6 separate regions of the Homo sapiens genome follow, and all the other regions are linked to region 3. Evidence: promoter capture Hi-C in 16 types of primary human blood cells and fetal thymus (Javierre and others, 2016). All regions are on one chromosome and are shown on one strand. Each heading gives the region's core, a stretch centred on a gene start or on the middle of the fragment in contact. The rest is flanking DNA. Distances are from core to core; before and after follow the strand shown.

Evidence for each region. Contacts are between HindIII fragments. The CHiCAGO score rates a contact against its expected background, and 5 or more counts as called.
Region 1: the fragment with the promoter of CA13 here is called in contact with the fragment with the promoter of WWP1 in region 3 in 6 of 17 cell types (activated CD4 T cells, M1 macrophages, neutrophils and 3 more); the score reaches 7.2 in activated CD4 T cells.
Region 2: a fragment that was not itself captured here is called in contact with the fragment with the promoter of WWP1 in region 3 in 1 of 17 cell types (monocytes); the score reaches 5.5 in monocytes.
Region 4: a fragment that was not itself captured here is called in contact with the fragment with the promoter of WWP1 in region 3 in 1 of 17 cell types (fetal thymus); the score reaches 6.2 in fetal thymus.
Region 5: a contact is called between a fragment that was not itself captured here and the fragment with the promoter of WWP1 in region 3, in 8 of 17 cell types (fetal thymus, monocytes, total CD8 T cells and 5 more). The highest score is 9.6, in fetal thymus.
Region 6: a contact is called between a fragment that was not itself captured here and the fragment with the promoter of WWP1 in region 3, in 1 of 17 cell types (naive CD8 T cells). The highest score is 5.3, in naive CD8 T cells.

The regions. Positions count from the first base shown.
Region 1 is chr8:85,244,098-85,246,797 of GRCh38, forward strand. It overlaps CA13 (carbonic anhydrase 13), which reads left to right and starts at 1,361. Exons shown (of 7, transcript NM_198584.3): 1 at 1,361-1,768. The coding sequence starts at 1,732. RefSeq lists a silencer at 1,616-1,695 and an enhancer at 2,056-2,165. The HindIII fragment of the contact is 11,713 bases long and covers 1-2,700 here.
Region 2 is chr8:85,261,009-85,263,708 of GRCh38, forward strand. All of the region lies in intron 3 of CA13 (carbonic anhydrase 13), which reads left to right. Among named protein-coding and RNA genes, the nearest start is that of CA13, 17 kb to the left of the region's middle. The HindIII fragment of the contact is 1,204 bases long and covers 818-2,021 here.
Region 3 is chr8:86,341,143-86,343,842 of GRCh38, forward strand. WWP1 (WW domain containing E3 ubiquitin protein ligase 1) reads left to right here and starts at 1,405. Exons shown (of 25, transcript NM_007013.4): 1 at 1,405-1,788. WWP1-AS1 (WWP1 antisense RNA 1) reads right to left here. Exons shown (of 6, transcript XR_007060994.1): 2 at 2,448-2,518; 3 at 1,940-2,134. RefSeq lists a silencer at 1,496-1,955. The HindIII fragment of the contact is 10,725 bases long and covers 1-2,700 here.
Region 4 is chr8:85,100,141-85,102,840 of GRCh38, forward strand. All of the region lies in intron 1 of LOC105375933 (a long non-coding RNA gene), which reads right to left. Among named protein-coding and RNA genes, the nearest start is that of LRRCC1, 5.7 kb to the right of the region's middle. The HindIII fragment of the contact is 3,894 bases long and covers 1-2,700 here.
Region 5 is chr8:85,208,106-85,210,805 of GRCh38, forward strand. E2F5 (E2F transcription factor 5) reads left to right here. Exons shown (of 8, transcript NM_001951.4): 6 at 1,037-1,304. Among named protein-coding and RNA genes, the nearest start is that of RBIS, 11 kb to the right of the region's middle. The HindIII fragment of the contact is 984 bases long and covers 832-1,815 here.
Region 6 is chr8:85,187,523-85,190,222 of GRCh38, forward strand. The region is part of intron 1 of E2F5 (E2F transcription factor 5); the gene reads left to right. Among named protein-coding and RNA genes, the nearest start is that of E2F5, 12 kb to the left of the region's middle. RefSeq lists an enhancer at 2,358-2,427. The HindIII fragment of the contact is 704 bases long and covers 999-1,702 here.

The sequences.
Region 1 (2,700 bases), core at 111-2,610, 1.1 Mb before region 3:
GTTTAGGAGTCATACAGCTGGAGGCTGTATGATTCTGACCCTCCCCAAATTGCTCCTGGGAATAACATCACTATTGTAAAGCCTAAGACCAGTGCTTCAGATATGTTGCAGACCCTGCACTGGATGGATCAGCAGGCACCACTCAGCTCGATAAACTGGCTCATCTGATCCCATGGCCCCCACCCAGGAACTGACTTAATGCAAGACAGCTTTGACTCCCTATGATTTCACCTCTGACCCAAACAACCAGGTCTCCCGACTTACTGGCTCTCCTCCACCCACCAAATTGTCCTTAAAAACTTTGATCCCCAATGCTTGCGGAGACTGATTTGTGTAATAATAAAACTCCAGTCCTCTGCACAGCCGGCTCTACGTGAATTTCCCTTTATGAATTGCAATTCCCCTGTCTTGATAAATCAGCTGTGTCTTGACAGTGGGCAAGGTAAACCCATTGGGTGGTTACAAACTGTGTACCCAAGCAATAAAAGTAACAATTTGGGAAGTATTTGAGACCCACCAACCAAAATTTCTTTAACAATTTTGGTCTATTCAGTCATTCATCCATTCATGTAACCACTATTATTGGGTGTCAAGAACTGATACTTACTTAGAACGTTAAGAGCATTATTCATCTTGACATACCAAATCATCCGAGTTACTGAAAATTGGTTTACTAGGTTCCTTACAAAGAGGTTGCTTGGATTTATAAAATATGAGGCAGTTGACCCGAGACAAGGACGTAGAAAGTGGTTCATGTACCCAATTTTTATTTTTCACTTTGAACCCAGAACATTCACGACTCCAGGCCAGAAATTCAAGACTCTGCAGCTAGTTCTGACTCCAGTCCTAGGGTAACAAGCCCACCAAGAATCCAGGGCAGATGTCCTGAAAACCCTTCTTGCGGGGTCAGGAGGGCAGCAGAATTTTGGGACCAAATCTCAACAACTGGTTTTGGTTTCCTCACTCACCAAGCCACAAGCCTGCAGAGTGAGAAGAGGTAAGGAAAGGATGAATGGGCAATGGAGCCAGCCCAGGACCGGGAGCTGGTCCTCTCTAACAGCGACCCCGCCCGCTTTAGCTGAGCGACCCGGGGCAGGTTACATAGTGTCTCTAACTTAAGCCACGTGTTTCTCGAGGAAATGCTGAGAGGATCTAATGGGAAAACGTGGGTACACGTCTTAGCTAAGACCCTCGCCCACGATAAGCCCTTAATAAGTAGTTATTTTTCAGTGGTGGTGATTACCATCGTCATTATTGTTTTGTATTTGTAATCATCACTGCCACGACCATCACCGACCTCTTTTACGCCTCCACCGGGATCCCCACCTCCCAGCCTGGCAGTTCCAGGCTCTGGTGACTCATTCACTTCCTGGAAGTCCTCTAGGCAACACTTTCCTCTCCCGAGTGACGACTCCTCAGAAGGCAGGAGATCCCCCCCGGAAACCTTTCTCTCTCCGTCTCTCCCTCTAACTCAAATCTCTCATTCCCGAGTCCAAACTAAGAGAGACTCGCGCCCCAGGAGTCAGCCAGCGGCGCGGGCGCCTTCCCCGCACGCCTCTGCCGTCTGGAGGACGCAGGCGGGAGCGCCCCGGACCGGGTTCACGGTCTCGCACTCCTGCCGCCGGCGCCCCGCGGTCCCGCCCTAGCAGGCTCCTTCCCGGGCCCCTCCCCGCTCCCTCCTCTTTCTCGCTGCTCAGTCACATCTTTCTCTTCCTTCCACCCCGAGGGACCATGTCGAGGCTCAGCTGGGGATACCGCGAGCACAACGGTGAGCGCCTTTTCCTGATCCAAGGGGGGGTTTGTGCGGGGGACGAGAGGACTAGCGCGACGCCCCGGCGCTCGCTGACCACACACTGGGCTCGCACATTGAGAAACTTTTTCGGTTCCTCTTTAAACTAAGCAGCACTCCTGGGAGCCCAGTGCGAGAAGCGGAGAGCAGTCTTGTCAGGGTAGACGGGTTGTTGGTGGTGGATGTGAGCGTTGGTGTGTGTTATCTCTGTCAGGATTCCCCAAACTCCCAAGTGTTCATACGTGTGAGTTCACCTTCATCTGAAAAGCCAAGGACTTTGCCTAGTAACAGCCACGTATCAATTACAGGCTTGGAGATCAGAAGTCTGATGACACACTTCAGTGAAATAAGGACAAGTTCGCTTTCAGTCTTTTAAGCTCACTATTCACTTAGGAGAAACAAATCATAGAAAATCTTTAAAAATATATTTAGGAAATCTTAACTTGCATTGTGACACTGAAGATTAAGTTGGCTTCGTGGCAAACAAAATACTGCATGTTTCCTAATAGTTGTTACTGTAAATATTCCCACAGCAATTTGCAGTTGGCTGACTACTACTGGGGACTTTAGTAAGGGTTCAGGTTCTCGCTGGGAAATTAAGTTACATTGTGGGTTACTTCTCCACTCTTCTTCTCCACGCTCATCCTTGCAGGGTGAGCAAAGGATTACTGAAATTATAATTCATTGATAGAAATGTATTAATAGGATAAATAATAATGACATACACTTTTCTTCTTGTATATCACACATTATCAAAAGTAAAACATTTTTTCTTGTTCCTACGTTAAACTGAACTGATTGTTTAAATAATAATTATTTGAAATAATCGCAGTGACACCAAAAAGCCTTATAGTGAATAACTGTCAAAATTAAGGCTTAGTTTAGCCATTCCTCAATGTGCATATATTTCA
Region 2 (2,700 bases), core at 170-2,669, 1.1 Mb before region 3:
TCCTGACATATGTCAGAGGCTCAGAGTCTTTACCTGCAGATCAAGGGCCATTTTTGTAGACAAAGACTTTTTTGTTGTTGTTGTTCTGCAATAAATAATTATCTTTTATTTATTTATTTATTTTAAAGCAAACCAGTGAAGGAAAGGACCAAAACCTTTGGTTCACTTATGTATTTATAAATGGAAAAAATTTATAATGCAAATTTCACTTATTAAAAAACTTAGGTACAACTTACAACATTACAGATAATTATTTTCCCTTCTTTTGTTTCACATGGAGACCTTGGAGACTCAATTCATGTTAAGACACCTAAGTATGAGTCCTCCAGGTAAATATTACACAAATCAGAAGCATCTTGGAATTTTTAAGTATATTTTAAGACATACATTTTTATGCATGCTTTAAACAAACAGTATTTTATTTATTTTTTTTTTGAGACAGAGTTTTGCTCTTGTTGCCCAGGCTAGAATGCGATGGTGCGATCTTGGCTTACTGCAACCTCTGCCTCCTGGGTTCAAGTGCTTCTCCTGCCTCAGCCACCCGAGTAGCTGGGATTACAGGCATGCGCCACCATGCCTGGCTAATTTTGTATTTTTAGTAGAGACAGGGTTTCTCCATGTTGGTCAGGCTGGTCTCGAACTCCCAACCTCAGGTGATCTGTCTGCCTCGGACTCCCAAAGTGTTAGGATTACAGGCGTGAGCCACCGCGCCCGGCCAGTGTATATATATATATATGTTTGTTTGTTTTTAAATGAGAGAATCTAACAAAGAAACTATGACCAGCACCAGCATTTAAAGATAAAGCTTTGTGGATAAAGCTTGGAATAGATTTTCTTTTTTCTTTCTTTTTCTTTGAGACAGGCTCTCGATCTGTTGCCCAGGCTAGAGTGCCATGGTACAAACATGGCTCACTGTAGCTTTGACCTCCTGGGTTCAAGGGATCCTCCCACCTTAGCCTCCAGAGCAACTGGGACCACAGGTGGGCACCACTACATCTGGCTAATTATTTTTTATAGAGACAGAGTCTGGCCATCTTGCCTAGGCTGGTCTGAAACTCCTTGAATGCATATTAAAGAACAGTATACAATTCCAAGGGTGGGTGCAGTGGCTCATGCCTGTAATCCCAGCACTTTGGGAGGCCAAGGAGGGATGATTGCTTCTTATTTCATTGGCTTATATATTCATTCATTCTTTCACTCAGTAAGAATTCATTGAGAATCAACCATGCTCCTAATCTTTACACAGCTTACTGATGCTTACCCTGAAAGGAGTGCAGCCTCACACATATTTGAGGTCAGAAAATGCTGCCCTGTGGGATAGGCATCCGTTTTAAGTTAAACCTGGTTTAACTTAAAACCTGGTTTGGTTGAAGGGGAGGGAACTAGGTCAAGTGGGGGGACAGCAGTGGTTTTGCATAAAATCATGTGTGAGGATGTGGGTTGGGAAGGAGGCTCATACATTTGAAAAACAGTATGGCCTTTAACAGTGTAGTTGGAGCTTGGAGAATGAAGGGGAGAGTTGTCAGAGGCAAAGTTGGAGAGGCTGGGAAGGGCCTGATCTTACTGAGGTAAGTCCTGGTAAGGTTTATGAAGGTGATTCTAAGTGCAATGGGAAGCCACTGAAAGGCTTTCCATTGGGAAGTGGTGATATTTGCATTTCAAAAATAATTCAACTACTGTTTGAGAATAGATTGGATGGAAGCAGGAGTGGCTAAGGGGAGCTTTGGAGGAAACTTTTGGGGAAAGTTCCAGGCAATAAATGAGAGTGCAGGTAGAGGCTGGCTGGCTGGCAGTGGCAGCTTTAGTGGCATTTGTCGATTGGTGGGTTTGAGAGTGAGGGAGGGCAGGATCCATGTTTCTAGGTTGAGATAGGAAATGCAGATAGAGAAAGTCTGGGTCAAACCTCAGGCTTGGTGGGGTGGGAGAGGTAGACAATAAGCAAATAAATAAATGGTGCATGGTAAGTTCTTTGATGGGAACAATACCATGTGATCTGGTAGAGTGGCTGAGGGCTTAGGAAAAGCTTCTTTGAGGTGATACATGAGTTGAGACTGACTGATAAGAAGAAAGCATTAAGAGAAAAATCTAGAGAGACCTTTCCAGGAAGTGGGAGCAGCAAGCTCAAGTTCTCTAAGGCAGGAGTGAGGCTGGCATGTTCAAGAGGAGAAAGTCATTGGCCTATTAGGATTGGAATTAATGAGAAAGGAAAAGTTATGTGCTCTGTCCTGATGAGGCAGGCAGGGACCATGCCACATCGGGTACTGTTGGGCATTGTAAGCAGTCTGAAGTTTATCTGTAATGCAGTGGGAAGAAGACAATGGAAGGTTTTGATCAGGGGAATGACATGTTCTGCTTTATATTTTACAAAATATAACTAGCTGCTGGGTAGAGAGGAGGCCGCTGTCAGGCAAATGTTGAAGTAGGGAGAAAAACTAGAAGGTTATGGAAGTCATTCAAGTGAGCAGTGACAGTAATTTGGACTCTGGGGGTGGTGGAGACGAAGAGAGCTGGACAAATCTATGATGTTTGGGAGATAAAGTCAATAGGGTTTGCTGATGAAAAGGATGTCATGATTGAAGGAAGGAAAAACAGGAGTTTAGAAACACTCTTAAGGTTTCGATGTAAGCATATTGGAGGCTGGTGGTGCCATTTACTGAAATGTGCAAGTCTGGGAAGGAGCAGGTTGCAGAGAGGAATTCA
Region 3 (2,700 bases), core at 155-2,654:
CCTACGGAATTTCTGAGGACGTGTTTGTAAGCACATTATTGCATCTATTTAAAGGGACCAGACAGCAAAAGCAAAAAGATGAAGAAAATCTTAGTACATGTTTAAAGCAGAGATGAGTGGGCACATATGGGGCACTGTGAAGAGTTTTTCATAACAGGAGAGATAGAGCATGTGAGCATCAAAGGAACCTTGAATATCACGTTAATCTTTGTCAGGAGAGCTCCGAAAAGCCAAAGAATGATTTTAAGCAGTGGAATGACACAGATGTATATTTTCGAATGATCTTTGTGGATATAATGTGCACCAATTTCAACTATGAAGCCAGAGGACAAGAACTAATGCATGGAGGTAGGCGGGAATGTGCATTGTTCAGTCAAGAGATACTTGTTGAATTCTGTACACACTCATGAAGTGTTGGGGTTGTTTTTGGTACACAGTTCTTTCAAAAAGCTCAGTTAAAATGGAAGGGGAGAGAGAACCAGAGGTTTTAAAATCAAGGGAAAATTTAGGACCTAATCTTAAAACGTGATTATGCTGAGGAGTTGTAGGCAGTGGAGAGGGTGAAGTTAAAGATGTGCCAAGGACCGCCCACAGTGGGGAGCAGGCAGTGGAGAGGAGCAGGGACATCTAGCCTCCGAGATAGAAGGAAAACTAGTAAGTCTGGGTGTGGACGTAGATATAATCTATGGGGGTTGGTCAGGTGGTTGGGCAAAAGCTGTAGAAATCCATGCCTGAAGGCTTCTGCTTCTCTGAAGTAGAAACCGGGTCACCTGGTAAGCAATGTGGTCCCACTGACTTCTATTTGCACATTGGCCTTTCTTCTAAAAGCAATACACATAACCAACAGTACTTTTCTAAACTAGTTGACTTTTCTGTAAAATGCAGACAGTAGACACTACTTTGTCAGATTGTTGTGTGCGTTAATTGTGCGGACACGTATACTCGGTCAATAAGTATCTGCTTTATCACCGGGCTGATGTGAGTGAGGACTAGGTGGTGGGGCTTCCACAGATGAACGTTTTGATTAATAAAAAATGGACTGAAAGTCTTCGGGTATGACCAATGGCTAAATGCAATTATTTACTCTTGCAATGTGTTCGAGGTCACCCAGCTAGGTCAAGGAGTATTTATGGACAGCCTACTTTTGCCCCCGGACCTTAAGAAGTCCTGCTCCGGGATCAGCCGCCGACCGGAAAGTCAAATTAGCAGTGCCCAGCGCGAGCTTAGAGCAGCCTCTTCCCAAATCTCAGCGGCGGCCCCGCCCCTTCCACACGTTCAGGCCCCGCCCCTCCCTACTATTGGCTGTCCGTCCCCCTCCGCTAGACTGCTCGGAAGACCCGGAGGAGCGGAGTTTTCCTAAGGCAGCATCCGAGCGCCCTCGCTGCGCATGCTCGGGGGAGGCGGATTCCGGGTCCGGAGTTGGAGGCTTTGGGCGGCCGCGGCGTAGCGCGCGGTGCCGGGGCCGGCGGGGAGGCGCGCGCTTAGGGCGCGGCGCCGGCGACGCGGCCACGCGGCGCGCTCCCGAGGAAGGGAGGTGTGGGGTCGGCTGGGGGTGGCGCGTGGACGGGGTGGGGGTGGGGGGAGGGTCGGGTGTCGGCGAGCTCCGCGTGCGGGTTCCGAGTGGCTGCTGGCGGCCTGGGCTGCCGGGGCCGACGCCTGGGTGGCTGCTGCCGCCGCGCCTGCTGCGAGATGGCGATCTTGGGCGCGGAAGGGTGAGGGCGCCCGCCGCAGGAGGAGGTGCCGCTGCCGTGGCCGCCCGGCTGCCGGGAGCCGACAGCTTCGCGCCGGGTAAGGACGGCGCGGCGCGGGGCTGGGGGTGCGAATGGGCAGGGCGGGAGGGGGCACGGGCCCTGAGCCTTGGCCGCGGTGCTGGGCGCCCGGCGCCGTCCGCCCCCGGGCTGGACCCTCCTAGGACCCGTCGGGGGACGGTCCGCCCTACCTTGGCTACCTTCTCCAGCCCGGGAGTCGGGAGTTTTCTGGGGTGGGGTCACGGGTCTTGCCCGGAGTTCGCCCTGGCAAAGGCCTGTGCCAGTGATCCTGGAGCGGAGCGAAGTGTTTCCGTGACTCTGCAGCCGCAGTTCTTAGGCTTCCTTAGCCTTCTCTTCGCCTTCCTCCACCTTTCCCTAACACCTCCCTGAAAACACAAATACATGGACTCATTGCCCGTTCCCTGACTTTCACCCCAATTTCAGCGTTGCAAACCAAGGACTCCAGCTTTGGAACGTCTTTTTCTGACATGTTTTTATCACTCTCCGTTCTTCACCGACTCTGCAGCTCCCCATCCCCCGCCCCCCCAGCGCAACCCCCACCTCCACCTTTTGTGACCTGGTAGGTTCCAGTGACCTTGCAGATTTTACCAGTCCTTATCTTGTCTGTGACTTACAGACTCTCCTTTCATCTTCGTGTTCTTTTTTTAAAAAAATTTAATTTTGTAGTTTGCTCCTTACCTTTACGACCTTTAAATGATCAGTCTTGTTCACAGTCCTTTCTTTGCTCTGCCGATTTGGAGTTTTCTCTGCTGTGGTAAATATATGAAACCTTCATTACCAAAGAAGAGTAGTGTCTGTTATAATTTTGACATTTTTACTCTTTCAGAATAAAATATTTTCCAGGGGCTTGATTTTGCCTTCTTTTTCTATTTGATAAGTTTAACAAATTTTTTTCTGTGTGTGTGTAGGTTAATGTGGAACAAGATTTTGT
Region 4 (2,700 bases), core at 190-2,689, 1.2 Mb before region 3:
TATGCTATTTTGTTACATGCATAAAATGAGTAATGATCAAGTCAAGATATTAGGGGTATCTACCACCCGAAGTATTTCTTATTTCTATGTGTTGAGAAAGTTTAAGTCCTCTCTTCTAGCTATTTTGAAAGATACACTACAGGCCGAGCGTGGCGTCTCACGCCTGTAATCCCAGCACTTCGGGAGGCTGAGGTGGGTGGATCACTTGAGGCCAGGAATTCGAGACCAGCCTGGACAACATGGCGAAACCCTGTCTCCACTAAAAATACAAAAATTAGTTGGACGTGGTGGCACGCGCCTGTAATCCCAGCTACTCAGGAGGCTGAGGTAGGAGAATACTTGAACCCAGGAGGTGGAGGTTGCAGTGAGCCAAGATCTCCCCACTGCACTCCAGCCTGGGAGACAGAGCAAAACTCTGTCTCAAAAAGAAAGAAAGAAAAAGAAACATACACTACATTGTTGTTACCTCTAGGCATCCTATTCTGCTATCGAACATTAGAACTTATTTCTCCTAACTGTATGTTTGTGCTCATTAACCAATCTCTCTTCATCCATCCTCCCCAACCCACACACCCTTCCCATCCTGTTATCTATCATTCTACTTTCTACCTCTATCTCCATGGGATCAACTGTTATAGCTCCCACATATGAGTGAGAACATGTGATATTTCTCAATCTGTGCAGAGCTTATTTCACTTAACATAATAACCTCCAGATCCATCCGTGTTTCTGCAAATGACAAGATCTCATTTTTTATGGCCAACTAGTAATCCATTGTGTTTATATACCACATTTTCTTTATGCATTCATCTGTTGATGGACATTTAGGTTGACTCAATATCTTTGCTTTTGTGAATAGTGCCACAATGAACATGAGAGTGCAGGTATCCCTGTGATATAATGATTTCTTTTCCTATAGATAATTACCCAGTAGGGGAATTGCTGGATCATACAGTAGTTTTATTTTTAGTTTTATGAGAATTCTCCATACTGTTTTCCATAGTGGCCCCATTAATTTACATTCCAACCTATAGTGTATAAGAGTTCCCTTTTCTCCATATTCTTGCCAGAATCTGTTACCTTTTCTCTTTTTTAATAAAAGCAATTCTAACTGGGTAAGATGGTATCTCATTCTGATTTTGATTTGCATTTCCCTGATGATTAACGACAAGCATTTTTTTCATATACCTGTTGATCATTAGTATGTCTTCTTTCTAAAAATGTCCATTTGTGTTCTTTGCCCACTTTTCAATGGAATTTTTTTTTTTTACTGTTGAGTTGTTTGAGTTCCTTGCATATTTTAGATATTCATCCCTTGTTGGATAAATAGTTTACAAATATTTTCTTCCATTCAGCAGATATCCTAAGTCTTGATGGTTTTCTTTGCTGTACAGTTTTTTCAATTTTAACATAGTCTCATTTCTCTATTTCTGTTTTTGTTATCTATGCTTTTCCTGTCTTAGCCATAAAATCTTTGCCTAGACAAATGTTCTGAAATATTTTCCCCATTTTCTTCTAGTAGCTTTATAATTCGAGGTCTTACATTTAAATTTATAATCCATCTTGAGCTGCTTTTTATATATGGTGAGAGACAGTAGTCCAATTTCATTCTTCTGCATGGATATCCAATTTTTCCAGCACCATTTATTAAAGATGATATCTTCTCTACAATGTATGTTCCTGGCACTTTTGTCAAAAATCAGTTGGTTTTAAGTATGCAGGTTTATTTCTGGGCTCTCTATTCTGCTCTATCAGTCAATGTGTCTGTTATAATACCAATGCCATGCTGTTTTGGTTACCATAGCTGTGTAATATGGTTTGAAGTCAGGTAGTGTGATGCCTTCAGCTTTATTCTTTTTGCTCAGGATTACTTTGGTTATTCAAGCCCTTTGTTGATTCTATACACCAATTTTATGATTCTTTTTTCTATTTCTGTGAAAATTGACGTTGGCATTTTGATAGAAATTGCATTGAATTTGTAGATTGCTTTGGGCAGTATGGTCGTTTTGCCAAGGTTGATTCTTCTGATACATGAGCTTGAGATGGCTTTCTGTTTGACTGTGTCCTCTTCAATTTCCCTCATCAGTCTTTTGTAGCTTTTCTTGCAGAGAAAAGCTGCCTTTCACATCCTTGGCTAAATTTATTTCTAAGTCTTTTATTTTTATAGCTATTGCAAATGGGATTGCCTTCTTGGTTTCTTTATCAGCTTGTTCATTATTAGTGTATAGAAATGCTACATTTGTGTATGTTAAAATTCTATGCTGCAACTTTCCTGAATTTATTTATCAGATCTAAGAGTTTTTTGGTAGAGTCCTTAAGTTTCTCTAGATATAAGATTATGCCATTTGCAAACAGGGACGATTTGACTTTCTCTTTTCCAATTTCAATGTCTTTTTATTTCTTTATATTGCCGATTGGTCTAGCTATAATTTCCAGTAGTATGTCAAATAAGAGTGCTGAAAGTGGGCACACTTGTCTTGTTCCAGTTCTTAGAGGAAAGGATTTCAACTTTTTCCCATTCAGGATGATGTTAGCTGTGAGTTTTTCATATACGGCCTTTATTATATTGAAGTATGTTCTTTCTATGCCTAGTTTGTTGAGAGTTTGTATCATGAAAAGACTGAGTTTCATCTAATGCGTTTTCTGCATCTACTGAGATGATCTTATGGATTTTGTCCTTCATTCTGTTGATATGATGTA
Region 5 (2,700 bases), core at 74-2,573, 1.1 Mb before region 3:
ATCACTTGAGGTCAGGAGTTTAAGACCAGCCTGACCAACATGGTGAAACCCCATCTCTACTAAAAATACAAAATTAGCCGGGCATGGTGGTGCATGCCTGTAATCCCAGCTACTTGGGAGGCTGAGGCAGCAGAATTGCTTCAACCTAGGAGGCAGTGGTTGCAGTGAGCCGAAATCGCGCCATTGCACTCCAGCCTGGGCAACAAGAGTGAAACTCTGTATCAAAACAACAACAACAACAACACATCTACAATTGATATAAAAATTGCCACTGAGGAAAAAGTTCAATGTACATATCAACAATCAATTCCTTTAAATTAGGTCTTTTATAAAACATTGTCTGGCTTATTAAGTCAAAGACATTTATTGACTCTATGAGTTTCATGATTTTCGTTTTCAGATTCAGATTTTTAAAAACAAACTAATTTGAAAGCAATAACCAAAAAAGGGAGTAGAAAAAGATTACTATATTATCTACCTCCTTCCCCCACCCGCTTATTAAAAAAGTTTACATTTAGGCATTTGTATTACTGGAGTCTGAAGCCTCAGGATACAGATTACTTTTTCAGCTGGAAGAATGTTATATTTATTTCTCAGTAGGAGAAATTAGTTGTCTTTGTGCTTGCAGATGGGAAAAAAAAGAGTTTGATTTGTGAAGCATGTTGAACTGACCAGATCTGTGGTGGCCAACTCCAGGGGATAAATTTCCTGTATATGGAGAATACCTGGAGCATTGCTGGGCCCTGACCTATTATATAGTCACACACGGTAACAACAGATGGTTGCCAGAATTCTACAACAGAGAGTTTCTAATGATCAGTATTTGTGAAAAGCTTACTTTTTAGAAACTAGTGGTTTAGAGCCCTCAAAATTACATTCTACTCTATGTCTCTACTTTTGTGTTTTGACTTAATGACTTTATTGTGTTATGTGAATTTAGTAAGTCCCTAATAGCTTTGCCTGTCTTATTGTACTGTCTTAAGTTAGCTAGAAATGTTAATAATTATACATTTGTTTATACCCAATAACTTCAAAGGGTCAGAATGGACAAAAGAAATACCAGATCAATCTAAAGAGTCATTCAGGACCTATCCATGTGCTGCTTATAAATAAAGAGTCGAGTTCATCTAAGCCCGTGGTTTTTCCTGTTCCCCCACCTGATGACCTCACACAGCCTTCCTCCCAGTCCTTGACTCCAGTGACTCCACAGAAATCCAGCATGGCAACTCAAAATCTGCCTGAGCAACATGTCTCTGAAAGAAGCCAGGCTCTGCAGCAGACATCAGCTACAGATATATCTTCAGGTGGGTTCAGAGCCTTTCTTTTGTAAATTAGAGAGGGAGAAATATAAAAACAGGTTGGCTCTCTTATCCAAAGTGCTTGTGACCAGAAATGTCCCAAGCACTTTTGACATTTTGGAATATTTGCATATACATAATAACATATCTTGGGGATAGGACCCAAGTCTAAACACAGTATTCATTTGTTTCATACACACCTTATTCACATAGCCTGAATATAATTTTATACAATAGTTTTAATTTTTGCATGAAACAAAATATTGACTGTGGCTTGACTGCAGCCTATCACAAGGTCAGGTGTGGAATTTTCCATTTGTGGCATATGTAGATTTCAGCTTTTACCTGAAGTTTACTTGGTAAGGTTCTTTTATCTCTCTTAGTAAGTCTAGGATAAATTAGTGAAATATGTTCCAACTACCTTTAAGAAAATATGTTCCAACTATCTTTAAGTATGGACCATAGTGACTTATGCCTCTTGTTTCTCCATATTCTTTGTTATACTTTTTATTTGGGAAGCTTAGTTTTATAGAAGTGATAAATGGTCTCAACTCCAATTATGTAGGAAATCTTACTTTCCTCATTTGTTTCATTTATGAAATTTTAAAAAGCTAAAACATTTCACACTGGGTATCAGGAGTAGAGAGCACAACTCTTAATTTGGCAGTACCTTACTGATTCCAAATAAAGGGAGCATGGTAGGCAATCTCTCAGTGACTACTGAATGAATGAATGAATGAATGGTGCCAATATAGACATCATATTGCAGATAATTTAAAACTATATTGTATATAATCCAAATTGTTTATTTTACCTCTAGGATGTGTCTCATTGCTAAAATGGGATTTCACAGGTTAAAAGTGACGCTAACAAGATATAACTGGACATGGAATGTTTTTTAGCTTCTTTTTGCCCACATCTATTCCTTTCTTTCCCCTATAAATATGTCTATACTACAGACCATTAGGATGCACAATAGAAAAGGTAGTGCTGGCTGGGCGTGGTGGCTCACAACTGTAATCCCAGCACTTAGGGAAGCCAAGGCAGGCAGATTACCTGAGGTCAGGGGTTCGAGACCAGTCTTGCCAACATATAGTGAAGCCCTGTCTCTACTAAAAAATACAAAAATTAGCTGGGTGTGGCGGCGCACACCTGTAGTCCCAGCTACTTGGAAAGCTGAGGCAGGAGAATTGCTTGAACCCAGGAGTTGGAGGTTGCAGTGAGCCGAGATCGCACCACTCCAGTCTGGGCGACAGAGTAAGACTCCATCTTAAAAAAAAAAAAAAAGAAAATGTAGTCCTTAAAAAGCTTACAATCTAATTAGGATATAAAGCAGGCAAGCTTTACATGGGTTTTACCTGGGTTAGCTTAGACATAATTAACACACTGGCTTCAACAAAGT
Region 6 (2,700 bases), core at 101-2,600, 1.2 Mb before region 3:
CCCTTTTATTATTATATAGTGACCTTTGTATCTTTTTATAGTTTTTGACTTAAAATCTATTTAATCTGATATATGTATAGCCACTTCTGCTTTCTTTTGGTTTCTATTTGCATGGAGTATCATTTTCTGTTCTTTCATTTTCAGTCTACGTCCTTACAGGTGAAGCAAGCCTCTTATAGGCAGCATAAGTTGAGTGTTTTTAAAAATCCATTTAACTACTTTGCCTTTTTATTGGAGAACTTAATCCACTTACGTTCAGGGTTATCATTCATAGGTAAGTAGTTAATACTGTCATTTTGTTGTTTTCTAGTTGTTTTGTAGATATTTTCTTCCTTTCTTTCTATCTTCTTTTGTGGCTAAATTATGTTGTTGTCTAGTGGTATGTTTTGATTCCTTGCCTTTTTATGTATCTGCTATAGGTTTTTGCTTTGTTGTTACCATGAGGCTTACAAAAAAATATCTTACAATGCGGTATTTTAAGCTGATAACAAGTTTGATCGCAAAAACAAACAAACAAAAAGAAACCTAACAAGCCTCTATGCTTTTATTCCAGTCCCCTCCTCACATTTTGAATATTTGATGTCACAAGTTTTATCTTTTTATATCGTCTATTGCTTAAAAATTATTGCAGCTACTATGATTTTTAATAGTTTTGTCTTTTAACTTTTACACAAAATCCAGAATACTTTAATTCTGTGATGATGCTGCATAAATTGCTTATATCTTTAGTCAGTGTACTTACTTTTAAGTGAGTTTTAGACTTTCAGATTGTTTTGTGTTACTCCTTAGCATCCTTTTTTTTTTTTTTTTTTTGGAGATTGAAGACTTCCCTTTACCATTTTTTGTAAAACACTTCTGGTAGTCATGAACTCCCTTATCTTCTGTTTTTCTGGAACAGGCTTTATCTCTTCTTCATTTCTGAAGGACAGCTTTGTGGGGTTTGGTATTCTTGGCTGGCAGGGTTTCTTTCAGCACTTTGAGCACTGAGGCAGGCCAGAAGCTTTTGGCAGATGTGGCCAGCACAGGAGTGGTGCAATCTGAAGCCAAAGTTCACTGAGATATCCCTGGTATTGTGAGCTGTCCAGAGCCCTGGACTGCTGACATCAGCCTGGCATTGGTGCAGCCCAGAGATTGAGTTTGCCTTGAAAGCCTGAAGCCTCGGGTTATGTGATCCTGCTTGGCACCAGGCTGGATCTAGAGCTTCAGTCTATGCGCACTAGCCTGGAACATGGGGTTGTGGTGGTCTCACCAGTGTTAGGTTTTACTTTGGCAATCCTAGCATTGGAGCTAAAGGTATGGTGTCTCTCTCCTTGCTGTGCTTCCTAGGGTTGAGGGAAGGATGACGGGGTAATATAAAACTGCCCTTCTTACCCTCTTCAATGTGACTTTTCTTATTATTGTGCTGCAACCAGATAGTGTAATCTCTTATATGGCTTATTTAGCTCTTGTGAAGGTATGTTATAGTATGGATGCTTGTTCAAATTGGTGTTTCTGCTGGGGAAAATTGCTGAAGCGTCCTACTCTGCCATCTTGCTCCATCCCTTCCTAAATAAATCATTGTTTTAATTTCACCAGTAAAGACTGACTGTCCTCAATTATGAGTAAGTTTCCTCTTACATCTTAATATTTTTGTGAAAGTGAGGATATACTTTCTGATGTTCCTTTTCCAACCTAAAATACAATTACTGAAGTATCAGTAGAAAGCTTGGGAAAAGGTTAATATACTCTAGAGTAAAACTTGCCCAGTATGCAACCACTCACAGAGAACCACTGTCAACAATTTTTAGTATTTCCCATTTCTTGCAACTTTTTATAGCTGAGATCAAATGTTTATTGTTCCTACTTATTAATATTATTATTATTATTTTTGAGGCAGAGTCTCTGTGACCCAGGCTGGAATGCAGTGGTGAGATCTTGGCTTACTGCAACCTCTACCACCCAGGCTCAAGCGAGTCTCCTGCCTCAGCCACCCAAGTAGCTGGAATTATAGGTGTGAACCACCATGCCTGGGTAATTTTTGTGTATTGGTAAAGATGGGGTTTCATCATGTTGGCTAGGCTGGTTTTAAAGTCATGGCCCCAAGTGATCCACCCGCCTCAGTCTCTGAAAGTGCTGTGATTGTAGGCATGAGCCACTGCACCCAACCTCTTTTTCCAAATTGTAAACATGATTTATAATGTCTTCATAATTTTGATCTGTCACATTACCCAGAATTAACCATTCTTATTAGTAGGTATATAAGTTTTTATGTTTTTTTCCTATTTCATACAATGAATATGTATTCACAAATGTGTGCCCCGTTGTTCTTTATTTTAGTAGCTTCCAGATTATAATTATCAGAAAAAGTCAGAGAAATGGGCAGTTCCACGCTTTTCACACTGTGAGGGGTGTTTGGAAGCACCTACCTGAGCCTTACGCTTCAGGGAGTAGCTGGGAGCTGACCTAGGAACTCCGGGACTCAAAAGCCAGATGTCATCAATATATATACAATTTAAGAATTTAAGGTTATATTATACCTCTACTTAGAACAACGTTCAGACACCTACAAGATCCTGCCTAGTCTGGCCCTCCTTCCTCTGCCACCTCGTCTATGCACTCCCTCTTAGATGACTCCAGTCTCACTGACTGTCTTTCAGCACTCTCACATGCCCTCTCCTCCTGCCTCAGGGCTGCTGCACAGGTGTTTCCTGCTGCCTGAAA